2 separate regions of the Homo sapiens genome follow, and region 1 is linked to region 2. Evidence: promoter capture Hi-C in human tissues and cell types (Jung and others, 2019). All regions are on one chromosome and are shown on one strand. Each heading gives the region's core, a stretch centred on a gene start or on the middle of the fragment in contact. The rest is flanking DNA. Distances are from core to core; before and after follow the strand shown. Region 1 overlaps TRAPPC9 (trafficking protein particle complex subunit 9). Region 2 holds the start of C8orf17 (chromosome 8 putative open reading frame 17).

Region 1 (2,921 bases), core at 188-2,687, 55 kb after region 2:
GGCTCAGGACTCTGGGAAGGAACTGGATACTCAAGACACAAAGCCTGGAAGGACAGGGACCAGGTCTGAGGTCTGTAAGGTGCTGTCCGGCGTTGCGAAGTAAGGTAGAGCCATTTCCACTTCCTCCACCTGCACTGCTCTGCACAACCCCTCCACGGAGGCCGAGTGTGCATCTGACCCACAGGAGGCCGGTGAGGCACTGAGAGAGGTTTGGGAAAGGGAGGGGAGGGGAATCATGCATTCTAGGGCTCAGGGCAGAGTTGCATGGATTCATGGGTATCCCCAGCAGTGGGCACAGCAGGGGAAGCGCCTAAGATGACTTCCCAGATGGACGTAACCTCATGACCTCTAGTTCACCCAACGCTCCCACCCGGCCCGGGACAGCAAGATGCCCTTGTCAGGCAGAAAAGGGCAGCCGCTCTGGCTGGGTTAGACACTTGTCCCAATGTGTTGCCAATCCCCAGCGAGGAGGGGCCCTTATTTATTCTTCTCAGCACGCCTGAAGCCTGACACGGGGCTTACCACACAGCAAATTGCTGAAGTATCAATATTTATTGAATGAATATTTTATGAATAAATAAAAGAATATTCGAGTTAGAAGCATTCAGAAATGAGAATTTAAGCAAAAACTTAATAACAAAAAAGCCTGAAGCACAAGACTAAATTGTGATTATTTGCAGCTGGGATTGTTAATGTCATCAGCCTCACATTGCCAAGAATGAGTCAAGCTTACTATACAGGACAAGCTTAGCAATTTATAATTTCTTTAAAGTGTTTTATACTAGTGTCATAAGACGACCAGATTTATGTTCTCTGGGATCTTGGACTACATCAAGTTATTTAGATAAGAAAGAGCAGTCCGAGGGCTGACAGTTCCCTATGCAGCAGCACTGGACCCAGCACTGCCAAAGGCGTAGACCCCAGAGGATGCATCGATGCTCCCTGAAGGCACCTGTCCTCATCCTGAGGAACCTGAGGTGCCGCAGCATCCAGCCACAGCCCTCACGGCTCATACACACAGAAGCATACACCAGCCCCACGCGCATACCCACACCCAAGTGACAAGTCCTTTCCAAGGGATCTTGGGAAGGAGGATTTTCTGGCACCTCTCAAAGGCAGGCCATAAATGTCCCCCAAGCCATTGAATCTCTAGCTTCCAGCAGCCCAAACAGGACCTGCTACAAGGCTGCAGGGCCTGGCTTGACATTCATGCGTGTCATTAACAATAATCACATTAAATATGAATACCCTGGAAGCCACCTCACAGTGAGTGCATTAGCATGGAAATGAATAAAGTGGCATATTTACACAATGAAATATTAATAGCAGTTCAAATGAAAGAACCAGATTTATATTTAGCTCCAAAGAATAACGCTGATTTTTAAAGTTTTAAAAGGACATATATGATATGGAACCACTTATGCCATTGAAAAAAAGACTCTCGGCCAGGCCTAGTGGCTCTTGCCTGTAATTCCAGCACTTTGGGAGGCCGAGGCGGGCGGATCACAAGGTCAGGAGTCCAAGACCAGCCTGACCAACATGGTGAAATCCCATCTCTACTAAAAATACAAAAATTAGCCGGGCGTGGTGGCAGGTGTCTGTAATCCTGGCTACTCAGGAGGCTGAGGCAGGAGAAACGCTTGAACCCAGGAGGTGGAGGTTGCAGTGAGCCAGGACTGTGCCACTGCACTCCAGCCTGGGTGACAGAGCGAGATTCTGTATCAAAAAAACAAAAAACCAAAAAACAAAAAAACTGTCAAAATAATGTTTGGGTGGGGATATATGTCTATACAATAAAGTAGTAAAACATGGATGTGGAATGATACCATCACCTCTAAGAAAGAAATTACCTTAAAGAGGAAGGAAAGAGAAAAGAAGATGGGATGAGGTGGGCAGAAAAGAAGAGCTTAGCTATTTTTACTTTTATTTTTGCCAACAATTTCTTCTAAAAAATTTCAAATATAAGGTGAAAAAGATTTACACTGAACACCCCCCATATGCCCATTAAGAGACGCTACTGTTAACATTATACTATATTTGCATTACCACCTAATGTGTTCATCTGCCCATCTATTAATCTGTCAGATATTTTATAGAACTCAAAGACTATTGTAGCTATCATGCCCCGACCCCAAACCCTCCAGTGTGCATATCATTAACAGAGCTCAACACTGGCTTAGTTTTTCCTTCTGCTATAAAGCTGATACATCATGAAATGTACAAATCTCAAGTGATTAGTTGCCGAGTTTTGACGAATAGATACATGTGTGTAACCCAAAACCCTACTGATGTATACAACATGACCATCACCTAGAAAATTACCTTATGCCCTTTCCTGATCAAACCCTGTTCCAATCTCTCCAGAAGGAACCAATGTTCTGAGTTTTTCCATCGTAAATTGGTTCTGCTTGTTCTATAGGTTGGTGTAAAAGTAATGGCAAAAGCCGCAATTACTTTTGCAGCAACCTACAGCATTTCGTATCAATGGAACCACATGGCATATGCACTTTGGGTAAGGCTCCTTTCACCCAGCATCCTGTTCCTGAGAGTTGCAAGTGCTGTTCTGTGTATGAGTAATTCATTCGTTTTTGTTGCAGAGTACCACACCATTCCGTTTGTAAGAAAACACCGCCATTTGTTTGTCCGTTCTCCTGTAATGGACACCTGGCCTCTATTTTCTGGCTAGAACGTTGTATAGGTCTTCTTGTGACCATATGTTTCATATTATCCTTAAATAAATAACTAGGGTTGAAATAGCTGGGCAAAGGGTAAGTGTATGTTTAATTTTACAGGATAGCCCCAGACCTTTTTCCAAAGCAGCTGCACTATTTTATATCCCCACCCACAAGGCATGAGAGTTCCTGTTGCTCCACACCCTCACCAACATTTGGTGCTGTCTTTAACCATCCTGATGAGTGTCT
Region 2 (2,700 bases), core at 147-2,646:
CCGATTCTCTACACTTCTCTGTTATGAACAGGTAATTTAAAGAAAACATTGAGCATCGTGAATGGCATATGCTAGGGGCTGAACAAGCATAACTTCACTTCTCTTATTTCTGGGACCTCCCAGATGCCTAAGAGGTGACAGCCAAGGGGGTGACACTCAGGAAGAGCTGAGACCCTTAAGCCTTCTACGCACTATCTTAATGCATGTTTACCCCTCCATCCCAACTCCTGAGATGGGAAGGCTTATAGTGTGGGGCAGTGGGGCTGCGCCAGCCGGGAGTTGATGTGTAACGTGAACAAGATACAGCCAAGGTGAGCAGTGGCAAGGCCAGCGCGCTCACACAACACGGTTCTCGCCAGTCAACTTCTCCCGTGGTGTCGGTAGGGCAGGTGGGTGGCTCAGGATCACAGGGAAAACAAGGGGGTCGATGACTAGAGCCAAGCCTTGGAAAGGGACTTCTGTTCTGCTTTCCAAGCAGCAATGCTCGCATCAGACAGGAGATAGTCACACCCCTCTTTTTTCCATCCTAGACATCAAACAGACAAAATGGTACCAGTGACAGATTAATATTCAAAGGCCATCTTGATCCTTCTAGACCCGTCAAATACAATAAGGAGCATCCCCCGTGTTTAGCCCCATGGAGGAGGGAACTTATTTTGCAATGAGATTTCGTTTTCAACCAATCCTAGTAACCGGCCTTCCAGAGCTGGAGCTCCCTTAGAAACCCAGCCTCATTCCACCGCTGTCTCATAGATGAGACCCTCTGAGGAGACGCTCAAAACAGGGAAGGAGGCGAAAACGGGGCCACCCAAGGGTTATGAGGATGAAATCACGACGACAGCAACACTGTTGAGTGCTCAGTGTACGCTGGACACCTGCATTAGCTCATTGACTCTGCACTCGGTGGTGCCCCCTTTCATAGGTATGGAAAAAGGCACATGCAGGGTGCCCACCCTGCTGGAATCAGCCCTCAGGTCATGGAGCCTGTTCCCTGTCTGTCCAGGAAGCAACCCCGAGGCCCTGGCTCTTGTCCTCCCACCTCCCAAACTGCCCCAAAGGGGTGAGGAAAAGAGCTTCTAGATGATTCTAACCCCACCTCTATAACCGCAAGCTGTGAGATCCTCGGGAAACACTTCGACCTCATGAGGCTCAGTTTTCTAATCTGAAAAATGAGAATATTAACCATAGACAACTGCCACTCACTGAACACCAGCTGCAGTAGAGCCGAGCATACACGTAATCCTCACCGCAACCATAGGAGCTGGATCCTGACATCCCCATCTCACAGAGGAGGAGACTGAGGTTAATGACGTGGCAAATATCCACAATGACAGTTTCTGCAAGTCTTTCCTAGTGCAATCACCCACAACCACAGCCCTAGAAAGAAGGATGAACACTCTTCCACAGAGGCTGGCACGCACCTTAAGGCAGGTGCCCACTGGAACCCTGTCTGTGGTGTCAAGGATTTTACAGTTGACCTTGAAGACCACCTAGTCCAAAGCTCTCATTGTACAAAAAGCCAAGCCCAGAGGTCACACAAAGCTTTGGACCTGAGCCTCTGGGCCCCGCGGTCTGGAAAGTGCTCCTTTCTCTGCATGCTACGGGGCTATCAACTTGAGCTGGTCCAGTCTGCAGATCTACATCCTGCCCGCCTGAGCAGAGGCGGGTGTGGGACCAGTGCGGATCTCCACGATTTGTCAGCCCATCCTGATAAGTCTGAGGCTCTGACCATCATATCTCATCACAGCATCATTAGGATTACAAGTGCCATGCGGTAGAAGAGGAAGGGAAACACGAACAAAAGGATGAGAAATTAAGCCCATTTCACCCGGAAAAGATGACTCTGATTTATTGCTCTATAGCAGCTGACGATGGCCTGTCAGAGAAATTCTGTGTTGAAAATAAAGAATAAAAATCACCCAGAGTTGTTTTGCCACACATCCAAATTAGAAAATGCTACTCTCCGGATGATTTATGCTTCAATTTTTTCCCTTATTCACAGAGAATTTGTCCAGCATTACAAGAGCACCTAAGAGCAATAATACAATTCAAAAGGAGATAGAAGAGGCCGCAGAGGTGTTGATGTGCGGCTGAGGGCGGGGTGCTGGCCCAAAGGCAGGGCTTTGGTGCTCAGAAGCATTGACCTTACAGGGAGGAACAAGGAGAAACCAGCCAGGCAGGCCCCGCAGGCAGCCCACAGAGCCACTTCGCCGTGCAGCCGAGGGAGTCCCGCACCACGGGGCCTCGCTCAGGGTAGCCACCATGGGAGAATGTCCCCACCTCGTGGATGTCAGGCTTGGCCACAGGTCCTTGGCCACGGGACCTGAGCAGAGTGACATATGCCACACTGGATCAGAAGCACGCTGGACCACCACGTGGTATGGCTCCCTTTCTTTCTCCCGTCATAAGTACAAGATGTTGGCTGACCTGACTCCTGGGGTAGAAATGTCATGTAGACACTGGGCGCGGTGGCTCACGCCTGTAATCCCAGCACTTTGGAAGGCCGAGGCAGGTGGATTGCCTGAGCTCAGGAGTTCGAGACCAGCCTGGACAACATGGTGAAACCCGTCTCTACTAATTTACAAAAAAAATTAGCCAGGTGTGTTGGCACATGCCTGTAGTCCCAGCTACGTGGGAGGCTGAGGCACGAGAATTGCCTGAACCCCAGAGGTGGAGGTTGCAGTGAGCCGAGATGGTACC

What was found. The method cuts DNA at HindIII sites, captures the fragments that hold promoters and counts their contacts. A contact is called where the count stands out against the background at its distance.
Region 1: a contact is called between a fragment that was not itself captured here and the fragment with the promoter of C8orf17 in region 2, in 2 of the 25 tissues and cell types used here (H1 embryonic stem cells and pancreas).

Annotation. Positions count from the first base shown.
Region 1 is chr8:139,984,520-139,987,440 of GRCh38, forward strand. The region is part of intron 19 of TRAPPC9 (trafficking protein particle complex subunit 9); the gene reads right to left. Among named protein-coding and RNA genes, the nearest start is that of C8orf17, 55 kb to the left of the region's middle. The HindIII fragment of the contact is 4,998 bases long and covers 1-2,921 here.
Region 2 is chr8:139,930,024-139,932,723 of GRCh38, forward strand. It overlaps C8orf17 (chromosome 8 putative open reading frame 17), which reads left to right and starts at 1,397. Exons shown (of 1, transcript NR_172942.1): 1 at 1,397-2,700. The region is part of intron 19 of TRAPPC9 (trafficking protein particle complex subunit 9); the gene reads right to left. The HindIII fragment of the contact is 16,447 bases long and covers 1-2,700 here.